Regions from separate parts of the Homo sapiens genome. Here region 2 is linked to region 1. The links are contacts of gene promoters, found by promoter capture Hi-C in human tissues and cell types (Jung and others, 2019). All regions are on one chromosome and are shown on one strand. The core of a region is centred on a gene start or on the middle of the fragment in contact, and the rest is flanking DNA. Distances in the headings are between cores, read along the strand shown.

Region 1 (6,729 bases), core at 2,284-4,783:
GGGAGAGGGAGAAGCTCTTCTGTAAGTAAGATTCTGGCAAGCTCTTTGAAATGAGTCTTCTTTCCCACAGATTTTCTCTACTCTTTCTATACAAACAGATAGGAGAAGAGGGAATAGAAACCTGGAGGAACTTGAATATTTTTGTTCTAGATAGAGATACAGTTACTGAAAAGGAAACCTAGAAAGTAGTCACACGTTGCTTATTTAGGCCAGAAGTAATTGTACTGGGCAAAAATTTCACTTAAAAAACACAAGAAGTCCAGGTATGGTGGCTCAGACCTGTAATCCCAGCACTTTGAGAGGCCGAGGCAGGTGGATTACTTGAGCCTAGGGGTTCAAGACCAGCTTGGGCAACATGTCAAAACCCTGTCTCTACAAAAAATACAAAAATTAGCCTGGCATGATGGCATGTGCCCGTAGTCTCAGCTACTCAGGAGTGAGGTGGGAGGATCATTTGAGCTCAGAAGGTCAAGGCTGCAATGAGACATAATTTCACCATAGTACTTCCAGCCTGGGCAATAGAGCAAGACTCTCTCTCAAAAAAAACAGCACACACACACACACACGAAAACAATTCTGAACTATGAAATCTGAAACAGCCCCTTGGTATCTCCTGGGCATGATTTGCAAATCTTTTTTTTTTACAGAAAAAAGGCAAAGAGTAAGCACTTTGCCATAGGTTACTTGGCCGTGATCATCTATCTAGTGGAAAAGGGGACTGGGAAGCCCAAGCAGACTGGGAAACCAGACAGCTAGGAAAAGGAGCAAAACATAGCCCAGCAACCTACAGATGAAGAAAGTTGAGAAATCCATTTATTCACCATAGAGACGCAGGAATTTCAGGCAATGCACTAAAATGAAATGGGGGAAAAAAGCTTGATCAGTATGGGAACCATTTTTGTGCAAAAGGGAATATTATGGATCAGCCAGTATTTCTTTGAGCTCTGCCTGTGGAGTCCATTTGACCTTTAGAAATATGAGGTATTCTGTCAGTTTTATCTTCTTGGAGAAATTTCTCCTAAAATCTTGATTTGCTTTAGTCTGGACTGGTTCATAGCCATCATCTTCCATCAGTACCCCAGAGATTCACTTTGTCTCTTATGTGGGATCTGTTTCCAGTTAGATGCCATTATTTTCCTTTTCCTTGGTTTACTCTTCCACATATTGGTAAAGCTCTTCCAATAGCTTTTGGAAAGGAAAAATGAAAAGTAAATGTTTTGAATCTCTGTGTGTTTGACAATGTCTTTATTTTACCCTTATACCTGATTGCTGTTTTGGTTGGCAAGGTATAGGATTCTTTAGTGGTCTCCATGCCCAGTTTTGAAGACATCTGCTAGCTTTCAGTGCTGTTGCTGTGGAGTCTGAAAATCTGTCTTCTGGCTTCCAGGGTGACTACTGGAAATTGAATGCCATTCTGTTCCTTCTCTTTTGCATATATAATCCATTTTTATCTCTCTTGAAGCTTATAGGTTTATCTTTGTCTCAATGTTCTGTCCCTGTTAAGAGTCCATTTTCATCCTTTGTACTAGGTGCCTGGTGGGATCATTCCGTCTGAAACTAATGATTTCCCATCTCTTCACTGTTTCTGGAATTCCTGTTTTCCAGATGTTAGACCTCCAGAATTTGATCTCTAATTTTCCTATCTTTTCTCTTAACTTTCAGCTCTGTCTTCTTGCTAGGACCTTTTCCTAGGAGCATTTCTCAATTTAATCTTCCAGTTCATCTGTTGCATTTTATTTTTCTAGTCTCATATTGTCTCATATTTTTAATTTCTAAGAGCTCCCCTTCTCCGAATATTCTTTTTTTTTAATAGCATCCTATTTTGGCTCATGGTTGCAGTATTTTATCTCCTTGAAGATGTTTGTGTGTTTATGTATGTATATGCACACACGTATACATACACATACAGGCATGCATCTCTGTATTCTTTCGGCATAATCTGTGTCCTCCAGGGTTTGTTTCTTTGTTTCCCCTGTATGTTTGTTTTGGTCGTTCACATTATAGGCTTTCCTCAGAGTTAATGGTCTTGGTAGTCTACTCATATTTAAGTGTGGAACACCAAAAAGCTTACTATAAGCTGAGAGTGTGGTAAAGGGCTCTTTGTTTTACTATGACCTACCTGAGCTATCTTGCTGGGGAACACCCTAATGTCAGTCTCTTTATAAAGGGCCTTTCATTTTGGCCTGGCAAGAAATACTCTTTCATCCTCCTGCATGGAGGGCAAAAAAAAATTTAAAAATTGGCTGCTAGGGTCTGTCTGCTCACTTCCCTGTTTTGCAGACCCCACACTCTTCTGCAATTCATTTCATAGTTGTCAAGACTATACAAATTGTCCTTTTTAATGTTCTCTCTTCTGCTATCCCTAGTTGGCAGTCTTCCTCTTTACAACCTGCTGAAAGTGGAAGACCTCCAGTTTTCCTTTAATTCCTCAGCAAACCACCAACTATTATATGTCTTTTTTCCAGAACAACTTATTTTTTAACTATAATTATATGCATTTATGTTAGATTCACTGAAAACCTCATCTTGTATGGTGCTCTGTACCCTATGGGTGCTAAATAAAGGCTTGCTACTGGCAACTGGATTTAGGATCGGCTAATTCTGCGTCCTTTTAAGATATGCTTATTTAAGCCAAACTCGGTATGATAATTTTTTTTTTTTTTTTTTTTTTTTTGAGAGGGAGTCTGGCTCTGTCGCCTAGGCAGGAGTGCAGTGGCGCGATCTTGGCTCACTGCAACCCCCGCCTCCCGGGTTCAAGCGATTCTCCTGCCTCAGACTCCCGAGTAGCTGGGATTACAGGCGCCCGCCACCAAGCCCGGCTAATTTTTGTATTTTTAGTAGAGACGGGGTTTCACCATGTTGACCAGGCTGGTCTCGAACTCCTGACCTCGTGATTCGCCCACCTCGGCCTCCCAAAGTCCTGGAACTACAGGCGTGAGCCACCGCGCCCACCCGGCCAGTATGATAGTTTTTAGGAGGAACCCTCAGGAGAGTGATTGTTTCTCCCGCTGTGTTGTGGGGGGTGGAGTAGGGAAGCCTGGCGTTTGGGGTTTTTTTGTTTGTTTGTTTTTTGTGTGTGTTTGTTTGTTTGTTTGTTTTGAGACGGAGTCCCGCTCTGTAGCCCAGGCTGGAGTGTAGTGGCGCGATCTCGGCTCACTGCAAGCCCCGCCTCCCGATTCAAGCGATTCTCATGCCTCAGTGTCTGGAGTAGCTGGGATTACAGGCACCCGCCACCATGCCCAGCTAATTTTTGTATTTTTAGTAGAGACGGGGTTTCACCATGTTGGTTAGGCTGGTGTTGAACTCCTGACCTCGTGATCCGCCCTCCTCGGCCTCCCAAAGTGCTGGGATTACAGGCGTGAGCCACTGCTCCCGGCGTTTGGGTTTTTTAAGCTATTCAAATTAAGACTAGACTGGAATCTGGAGCAGTGTGTGTGACAACCCCTCTCTGCACACCCAACTTTCCCCGGGCCGGCTAGTGACTCAAAGCGACAGCCCAGATTTAAGAAAACGAAACCTAGTGCAGCTGGGGCACTTCCGGGATCTCGCTATCCGGCCGCCACCCGCAGCTGCAGCACAGTCATGGCCCAGGCGTCGCCGCCCCGGCCCGAGAGGGTGCTCGGCGCCAGCAGCCCGGAGGCCCGGCCCGCGCAGGAGGCGCTCCTCCTTCCCACCGGTGTGTACCGCGGGGGCGGGCGGGCGGGCGGGCGGGGCTGGGCAGCGACGGGCCCGGTCAAGGGGCCTGCCTTCCGGTCGTGGCCGCATGGGGGCCCGACCTGCCCCTACTCCGGGCCGGGGCCCTAGACGCCGGGGCGGCGCTGGACGAACTTGGCTCACCACTCGCGTGCCTGTTGGTGGGGGAGGGGGCCAGAGGACAGGGCGCGGCCCAGGCCAGTTCCACAGGTGGCTCTGACTGCCCATGGTTTCGCGCGAGTGGTGGGCACGCTTCGGTTTACCTCCCCCGCGGGTGACAGCCCAGTGCTTCCACCACAACCGATGTCAACTCTCCTAGCGCCCCTCCGCTCACCGGTAAACCAGGACAGTGGAGGGGCGCCCTGATGCGGTGAGGCAGGGGGCGGCCCTGAGGGAAGAGCTGGGTCTCACGTTCACGGAGGACGTGACTGGAACCCGTCTCCCCTTCTCCAGTCGTTCCAGTCCTCCCCGGCCCTCTACTTGAGTGGGTGGGTCTTCTGATGGGTTCCTGCCCTTGCGTGTGTGTATAGCTCCAAACGGTGTGCCAGGCTCAGGGCAAGGTCCTGAGCATACAAAGATGAGTTAGGCAGACCCTGCCCTAGAGACTCTACTAGGCAACTTTAATGAGGAGGTCAGAACCACAGAGGTACAGATGAGAGACTCCTGACTCCCAGTCTTCAGGGAAAGCTTTTTGAGGAGAGGATGGCTGGGCTTACCCTTTTTTTTTTTTTTTTTTTTTGAGAGGAGTTTCACTCTTGTTGCCCAGGCTGGAGTGCAAAGGCGCTATCTCGGCCCACTGCAACCTCTGCCTCCCGGGTTCAAGCGATTCTCCTGCCTCAGCCTCCCGAGTGGATGGGATTACAGGCATGTGCCACCACGCCCAGCTAATTTTGTATTTTTAGTAGAGAGGGTTTCTCCATGTTTCATGGGCTTACCTTTAAAGGGCAAGACTCAGCCAAAGGTGGAAAAGTTGAAGGGGTGTTCCCAGCAGAGAGGATGACACAAAGGCACCAAACCACAAAACGTCACACGTAAACATCATACGTGGCAACCACAAGCCAATCAGTTGGATATTTCATTCATTGGTATACATATGGACTGTAAGGTAAGTCACGGGAGATGCGCTTCCATCCTGACCTCTTCCTCAAACTCCAGACTGGTATAACCAACTTCTTCCATTTCTGAAATGATCTCAAACTGAGTATGTCCCAAAGAGAATTCTTGTTTCCTCCACTGTATTCAGGTACTCCAAACCTGCTCAACCACCAGCCCATTCCATTCGCCCAGGTGCTCCTTGCAAAAACCTTAGTGGCTCCTCAGGGCCTCTCTTTCCTCCGGACACCCCTTCTAATGCATCAGTCGGGCCAGCCAGTTCTGTGTTCAGCCTGACTGTATCTGGAGCCTGACTGCTTCTCACCACTTCCATTACTGCCACCCAAGCCTACGCCATCATGATCTTCTGTCTGGACTATTGCTTTCCTGGCTTCTATTCTAGCCTTTAATACAGGCAGGCCTGCAGAGCGGCCAAAATGCTTTTTGAAAAACAAAAAGCAAATGTGATTCTCCTACTCAAAACCCACCAATAGTCTCCCATGACTCTCAGAACAATCTATGAGCCTGGCCTGCAGTTTACCCCATGTCCTTATCTGATTTGACTCCTGCCCATCTTAATGACTCTGCTACCCTGCTACCTTGTAGGTCCTCTAAGCCACCAAAGCTGTCCCTGCCTCAGGATCTTTCCATTTGCTATTCTCTGCAAGGAAAACTCATTGCCACATTATCCCATTTTCAGTTCCCCATCATATTCAGGTGTCTGCTCATATACATCTTCCCTCAACCTTGCCTGCCCATCCTGTCTAAAAGAGCACCCCTTGCCCCTGCTCCTGTCACTCTCTACCTCCTTCTGCTCTATTCTTTCTCTATAGTACTTATCACTACCTGGAAAACAAAACAAAACTTGTTTAATGCCTGTCTCTACCACTGGCCACTGGCATGTAAATTCGTCTTACTCTCTTCTATCCTTAGTGCCTAGACTGGTTGGCCTAGTAGTAGTAGTAGGACATAGTAGGTACTCATTAAATATTAAATAATAGTAAGTCCTCATTAAATATTTGTTGAAGGAATGAATGTACTTGTATATAACACTACGGAGCTTGACTTCTGTAGGTGATGGGGAAATATGAGCAGATGTCCATTTCAGGTAGATCATTCTGACAGTAACATAGTACATTTCCGGTAGATCATTCTGACAGTAACCTAGCACATTTCTGGTAAATCATTCTGACAGTAACCTAGTACATTTCCGGTAGATCATTCTGACAGTAACCTAGTACATTTCCAGTAGATCATTCTGACAGTAACCTAGTACATTTCAGATAGATCATTCTGACTGTAACCTAGTACATTTCCGTTAGATCATTCTGACAGTGACCTGGTACATTTCAGGTAGATCATTCTGACAGTAACCTAGTACATTTCAGGTAGATCATTCTGACAGTAGCATAGTGCATTTCAGGTAGATCATTCTGACAGTAACGTAATACATTTCAGATAGATCATTCTGACAGTAATATAAAGAATGCAGTGGGATCATGACAGGGAAAATAGAGACAAGGACAAGAGATCACTGGAATAGACTAGGTGAAAGACCCTGAGGGTAAGGCAGTCCACCTTCCACACCGCTGCCAGCACTGTCTTTCTCTTAAACACACATGGGCACACACACATATAAACATGTGAGTGCACACACACAGATCAAGTAAGTCATGGTCCTTCCAGTGTTAATAAGCACGTACTGGCTGCAAGTACTACAAAAACAATTTGATGTAATTTAAGCATGAGGGATGCTTAGTAGTAGTAAGCAGGAAAACCAGACTCACAGACCCCCAGAGCATGGATACTTTAGCATCTTACAGAAAGGGCTGAGGACTAGGACCTGAGAAGCCATTATAAACTTTGACAACACTCTCCTTTATCTCTTATTTCTGCATCTCTCAGTGTATCTGCTTTGTTCTTCTCTTTCTCTGGTCCAGTTTT
Region 2 (6,729 bases), core at 2,035-4,534, 930 kb before region 1:
CCTGTAGTCACTAATTCAACCAGAAGGAAGAATTCAGGCTTTTTCTCATATCTGCACACAGAAAAAAGTGGCTCTCCTCAAGTTAGCCAAGGTACAGACCAGAAAACAAGTAGTAGTTGCAATGATGAAACAGTCTGCACACAAGCAACTCGATCAGCCAGAGCAGGGAGTGGGAAACATAGGTATGTGTGAGTGTGTTAGCATGAGTGTGAGTGTGCATGTGCGTGTGCCCCAGATGAGGCATGCTGGTGAGGTCAGTCTTCTGAGGACCACAGATTTAGCCCAGGGACAACATGAGGCATCAGCCTTTAATTTCTGTAGGCTTCAGGTAACATTCCATCTATTAGGCTATATTTCACAGGTATGCTTGCAACTGGGAACGTGAGAAATGTATTCTTGAAATTTCATGTGGCTCATCTGACTTTGCCACATCAAATCAAAATGTCCTTCATCTCAGAGGTACTGCAGGTGGATTCTCCAGATTTCGGAGGAGGTACTAGAGAGTGATAATCTCATCAAAGATATTCCTGCCTTTTGTGTCCTAGGGTCTGTGACACACAGGCCCTTAGTTATTATGAGGCCTGTAAGTCTTCTGTGGGGAGTGCGTTAGGGGATGATGGAGAGAAACTTTATATGTTTAATTCAATTGTACTCGTTATTAAAGCTTATTCAATATATTTACAATACAATATAAAACTTTAGGTGATGTCTGAATCAAACATCTATTAAACAAATTGCAATATGTTTGGAACTTCATTCTAATTTTCCCATTAATTACCTAAATTCATTTATAAACTTCATACACCACCACTTATAGTTTTTAGTTCTGTAATATACACGTACATATATGAGTACAGTGTATATTCTTTGCTTTTAGGAAATCCAGTATAGGAAAATCTAAAGTTGGAAAACAGATAACCCTCAAGGTGATTATTTATATGATCAAATAATTGGTTACTTTCCAAAAGTCCCTTTCAATGAAAAAAAAAAAAAACAATAAAAAACTAAATCAAATCCATAAATATAAACTAAGTACCTAATCTTATGAGCAAGAAAGAGGAGAATGAATATACAAAGAAGACCAAGATTAATTTGGGGTATTTAAGACTTTATAGGCTGGGCACGGTGGCTCAGCCTGTAATCCCAGCACTTTGGGAGGCCAAGGTGGGCGGATCACCTGAGGTTGGGAGATCGAGACCATCCTGGCTAACATGGCAAAACCCCATCTCTACTAAAAATGCAAAAAATTAGCCAGGTGTGGTGGCGGCACATGCCTGTAATCCCAACTACTCAGGAGGCCGAGGCAGGAGAATCGCTTGAACCCGGCAGGCAGAGGTTGCCGTGAGCCGAGATCACGCCATTGCACTCCAACCTTGGCAACAAGAGCAAAACTCTTAAAAAAAAAAAAAAAAGAAAAGAAAACTTTGTATGGTTTAAGTGGCTTCAAAAGCATCATTTACATAACATTAACCACATGACTGGTGGGTAGAGTTGTTTCTGTCCATTAGATTCCTTCCTCAGGGAGCCACTTATCCCTGTTTGGGCCTGCAAGATCTTATGTCTTTTTTTTACGTAAACCTATAGGTCTTTGAATGTTTTTCTACTTTCTGGTACAGAACAGGCTTACCTTGTACTTTCTCTCTCCTAGCCCTGAACCTATTCAGTTTCTCCAAGATGCCCAGTGCAATGATATTTAGAAACCAAAATCTGGGTATCAGATGTGTCCATTGCTACTGAGATATTACTGCTTCTTGGCCCCTTTAGTAGAGATAGTTAGAATACATATTTATTTAAATTGTGACTGAATCTTACTGAATCCCCTGTTCCCAATTCAAAACCAAAGAGTTTTTCCTTTAATGGAAAGGCGTTCTACATTCTTTAACTCAAATCAGTGATCCCTAGTCAGGAGTGGTTCTTGACTCATGTTCAAGTTTGTAATCATTTATTTCTTATTTTGCTCCTAAAGTGACCCAGTAAGGGAAAGCTGATGTGAAGCCTGATTAGCTTTTACCGTGATCCCTTTTCCTAAGGAGCTTTCAACAGTTTCCATTCATTTTGCCTGACTCAGAAGGTACAATCTCTTATTTCTTTTAGTACCTTAAAAAACAAACAAACAAAAACACCACTTTCCAAAATCCTGTGTATTTCACATATGTCTAAGGTTTTGAGGACAACCCAACCTATACAGCTTTCTCCAAGGATTGTAGAGGAGAGGGAACAGAGCAGAGAGGGGATGACTGCCTCGTGATCTTGTACAGTCCACTGCTTACTGTTTGAAGTCTTGAGACTAGGAGACTCATATTTCTGCTACCAGATAATTAAGATACAGCATCTTAATTATCCTTCTATCATCATGCAGATCAATGGTGTGCCATGTAAAATTTTTCTGAACTTAGCATTTTCACTGCTTCCAAAGGGCTGCACTATTTCATAAAAAGAAAACTGTGTTTCATAACAAAACGTTGCATAATTAAAGTGACTGTAACAATGACAAAAATGTGAATTTCCTCCTTCTCTTTCCTTTCTTTGAAGTCAAATGGGGAACCAAAATGGAATGTAAACGGAAGCTTTTTTGTCTTCCTTCTATCAAGCTTTGTTTGAGGTTCCAAATTCAATACACAGCTAGCACTGAGGAGGGTGTAGCAAATTTTCCAGCAGTTGCAGCCAGGATTAACTGTACTGCCTTCTTTGCCAAATCCATTCGTAAGACAAAACTGAAACAGGTCCTGAAGCTTTGTCATCTTTGAAATTGAGGCCCAACACACGGTGCAGAAAGTGCTGGACTTGAGAAAATCTGGGTTTGGGGCCAGTTTTTCCGCTTTAGTGCCAAGTGTCCTTGGGCAAAGCATTGGTTCCCTTTGAGGCTGTTTCCTTCCCTGTAAAACAAAAATAAAAGTCATGTTCTTGCTTACCTCATAAGGGCGTTTGAGGCTCAAATTAAATGTGATAATGTCAAAGAGCTTTGCAAACTCTAAAGAACTATGAATATAAAGTGTTATTAGAAGCTGTTGAAAGTAAATAATGGGGCAGCTTAATTCAAGTAATTTCAAATGCCTCAGGGTACAAAGAGCTGTGTGAGAGTCTTAGATATTTGCACTGCCCTGTGGTAATAAGAGAAGAGAGGGCGGGCTGAGGTGGGGAAGGTAGCATGACTCCTCTTTCCCGGTAAAGGTGGGCTGGGGTTGGAGAGAGAGATATTGAAGTTGGGGAAGGCAGGAGACGTCACAGCAGTTTGTAGAATGCAATTATGATGATGAGATGGGATTTAGCTAACAGGAGAGAGAAGGATGGTAGGAACGGCCAAATGTGCTTCAGAAATAGCAGAAGTAGGGCAAAAGATGTGGCTCAGAAATAGCAATAAATACATAAATAAATAAATCAGAAATGAAGGCCAATAAATGTCGGAGGAGGAGGTTACACATATAGGGAGATCCTGGGGGGAAAGGAGTTTCCAGGCTTAGTGACAAAGGAGCCTGAAATGAGGATCCCAGGGTGTCAGCAGTTGATGTCCTGAGCCAGCAGTCTCCAGACACTCATTTGCATTTATGAGTGCCTACTATGTGCCAGGCACTAGAAAGAAGGCTCTGTTTTCAAACAAAATCTTACAAGAACCCCAATATGTAAAACAGAAAAATTTGACGCTGCTCTGTTGAAGCAAGGCCTGGGGGACTCAGAGACATTCAGCTTTCCTCCGGATCCATTGGTAGCTCACAAAACATCTCTGCAGGGAGTGAGGCCTCTACTGAGAGACAGAGATAGTACCACTCAACCATGTTAACTCCAGCGCCTAGGACATGATAAGCGTTCAATATTTCCTGCATGAATGAGTGCATGTACGCATGAATGAATGCACAAAATAGAGTGGGTGGTCTGTAGGAAAGAATTCAGATAAATGGGTGCAGTGGATTCCATAACTGCATAGTGAGGCTATAACTTAGCAACCATGAATAGTTAATACATAAAGGTTTCTCAATCTTCAGACATGGAATGGTGGGTGGGTCACCAAGACTGGCTTGCCAGAGGCCGAGGGAGACACATTCGTGTGTGTCCAGCCACAGCAGCCAAAGTTAGAGAGCGTAAGACAAGACAGAACAAGAGAAAGCTTCTACTGACAATGTCTTGGTCACTTCATTGCAAAAACAAAGCTAGTCCAGTGCTCTGCTCCTGTGTGGTGGGGCAGGCTGTCTTCAGAATCACAGAACACAAGAAAAACAGCTGACATTTATCATGTGCTACTTGCCAGGCACAGAAGCAGTCCTTTTATGTGTGGTGGGTAGAACAATGGCCCCCTAGAGACCTCTATACCCCAATCCCTGTAGTCTATAAATATTCTATGTTACGAGGCAATGGAGAAACTAAGATTGCTAACCAGCTGACTGTGAGGTGGGAAGAGTGTCCTGGATTATCCAGGTGGGCCCCATGTCATCACAGCATCCTTGCAGGTAACAGTGGCAGGCAGGCAAGTCACAGAAGGAGCTGAAAGGACAGGAGCACATGTTGGAGTGATGTGATGTGATGTGATTTGAGAACTTGACTGGTCACTGCAGTTTTTGAGATGGAAGAGGGCCACAGGCCAAAGCAATGCAGGCAGCCTCCAGGAGCTAGAAAAGCAAGGAAATAGATTCTCCCCTAGACCCTCCTGGCCCTGCTGATACCTTGATCTTAGCCCAGCAAAACCCAGTTCAGACTTCTGACCTCCAGAACTGGAAGATTAAAAAATTTGTGTTGTTTTTAGCTACTACATTTATAGTAATTTTTTTTACAGCAGCCATTGGAAATGAATACAGATGTTCTCACTCCACCTTCATGTGACAGCCCTAACAGTTGGGTACTTACTGTTGGTATCTTGCAGATGAGTAGAATGAGGCATAGAGAGTTTGGGTCACTTGACCTAGTGGTGCAACAGGCGGCCAGACTCCACAGCCTGCTCTGTTTATCACACTGTCCCCTGGAGTGGCTTTACTTCCTCCTCCCCACAAATGAGAAAATGAGGCCCGAGAGATGTGTTCTGACCTGTCCCAGGTCACATGCAAGTTTGAGGAGACAAAGCTCAAACTATGCCCCAGGAGAATGATATAGACCAGTGCTTCACATACTTAAAGTCTCATCAGAATGCAGGTTCCAATTTAGCAGGTCTGTCTGAGATGGGCTCTAGGACCCTGTGTTTGTAAACAGCTCACAAGTGAGGTCTGGCCTCTGGGTCTGGAGCGGCTGTAGAAGCAGCTTCTGTTCTCTGCTTCGGGGCTCTGAGAATGTAGGGTCACTAGAAGAGGCTTGGGCTTCTAGTGGGATGAAGATGACGGGGCACTGGGAGGGAGAGAGGAGGCTTGGAGACGGGGAGACACAGGCACCGACGGCCATGCGACAGTCCTGTGTGGAATGAAATTTAGGGAAAGGTCAGGGCTAACCAGAAGGATATAACTCTTTGTGCTGCCCAAGAGAAAGATGTCACTCATAAGTGATGATTATTTTTGTCATTTAAAAAGTCATTAAAAACACTCACATGTAATTCCAGCGCTTTGGGAGGCCAAGGCAGCAGGATCGCTTGAGCTCAGAAGTACAAGACCAGCCTGGGCAACATAGGGATACCTCATCTCTATTAAAAATTTAAAAAATTAGCTAGGCATGCGCGTGCATGCCTATAATCCCACCTACTCTAGACGCTGAGGCAGGAGGATCATCTGAGCCTGGGGAGATGAGGGCTGCAGTGAGCTATGATTGTGCTACTGCACTCCAGCCTGAGTGACAGAGTGAGACCATAATTCAGAAAAAAAAAAAAAAAAAAGAAAAGAAAAGTTATCCGAAGCTTGAAGCTTGAAGGCATGGGTCGGGCATGGTGAATAGCACAGACAGATGGAGGACATTCTGTCTGCCACAGAGCCTAAAATATCTACACGAGATTGTGGGAGAAAACCCAACAGCCTTCATTTCCTGCCATGTGTTTTATGTAATTCTTTTATTTTATTTTTTATTTTTGAGAGAGACAGAAAGAGATAGTGTGCTTGTTCTTCGAGAAATGTCTCTAAAGTTTTGGCAGAATCAAAAGGCTAGTACCCCAGGCCCCTTCCTCTCCTGAGGCCCCACACCGCCCACTCCACAGACAGCAAACAGCCCCAGGAGGGTTGCTACTCTGTAACTGCGGTCATGGACCCCTGAGTCTTCATTTTAAAAGAATCCATGCACCCCTCTGTTTGTGTGTGGGGTGCTGGGAGAGTCTCTAACCTATTTCACTGAAACTGAATAATTTCCAGTTGTCTGTGGCTACCGCAGCTGCCTGCAGACTAGGAATGTTCTGGTTTCATTTTGAAACAACTCCCAGGCATGCAGGCAAGAAGTATCAACTTTCCTCTCAGATATGTGAACTCAGAGAGGAAGCCAAAGTTTGGCTGACTGGTTTCTAGGAGTACAGAGTGAAAACGTTGCTTGTATTTATTTAAAATGGCTAAAAAATGAGAACTTTTTTTTAAAAAAATAATCATATGTGGCACTATTCTTTTAAATCCAACAGCAGTTTTTATAGGGAATAATATGTAGATGGATAAATAAGTAGACAAATACTCTTTTTCATTATTTCATTAGGTCAATATGGAAAATGCTCAATAGGCCTTTTGAACACTTTAAAGGACTCCAAAGATGTTGGAGAAAATGGAACATTCATTCGTACTTTTTTAGATAGATAATAATGTAGATGCATAGAGAAATATCCAGAAGGATATTCATCAAAATGTT

Evidence for each region. Contacts are between HindIII fragments. The study calls those that stand out against the background at their distance.
Region 2: a contact is called between a fragment that was not itself captured here and the fragment with the promoter of PHF11 in region 1, in 1 of the 25 tissues and cell types used here (dorsolateral prefrontal cortex).

The regions. Positions count from the first base shown.
Region 1 is chr13:49,492,420-49,499,148 of GRCh38, forward strand. It overlaps PHF11 (PHD finger protein 11), which reads left to right and starts at 3,534. Exons shown (of 10, transcript NM_001040443.3): 1 at 3,534-3,676. The coding sequence starts at 3,583. The region is part of intron 12 of SETDB2-PHF11 (SETDB2-PHF11 readthrough); the gene reads left to right. SETDB2 (SET domain bifurcated histone lysine methyltransferase 2) reads left to right here. Exons shown (of 14, transcript NM_001160308.3): 14 at 1-2,584. RefSeq lists enhancers at 2,340-3,025, 3,336-3,575, 4,066-4,115 and a silencer at 3,596-3,875. The HindIII fragment of the contact is 5,353 bases long and covers 1,765-6,729 here.
Region 2 is chr13:48,565,472-48,572,200 of GRCh38, forward strand. LINC01077 (long intergenic non-protein coding RNA 1077) reads right to left here. Exons shown (of 2, transcript NR_170270.1): 2 at 2,127-2,876. Among named protein-coding and RNA genes, the nearest start is that of LINC00462, 12 kb to the right of the region's middle. The HindIII fragment of the contact is 3,339 bases long and covers 1,616-4,954 here.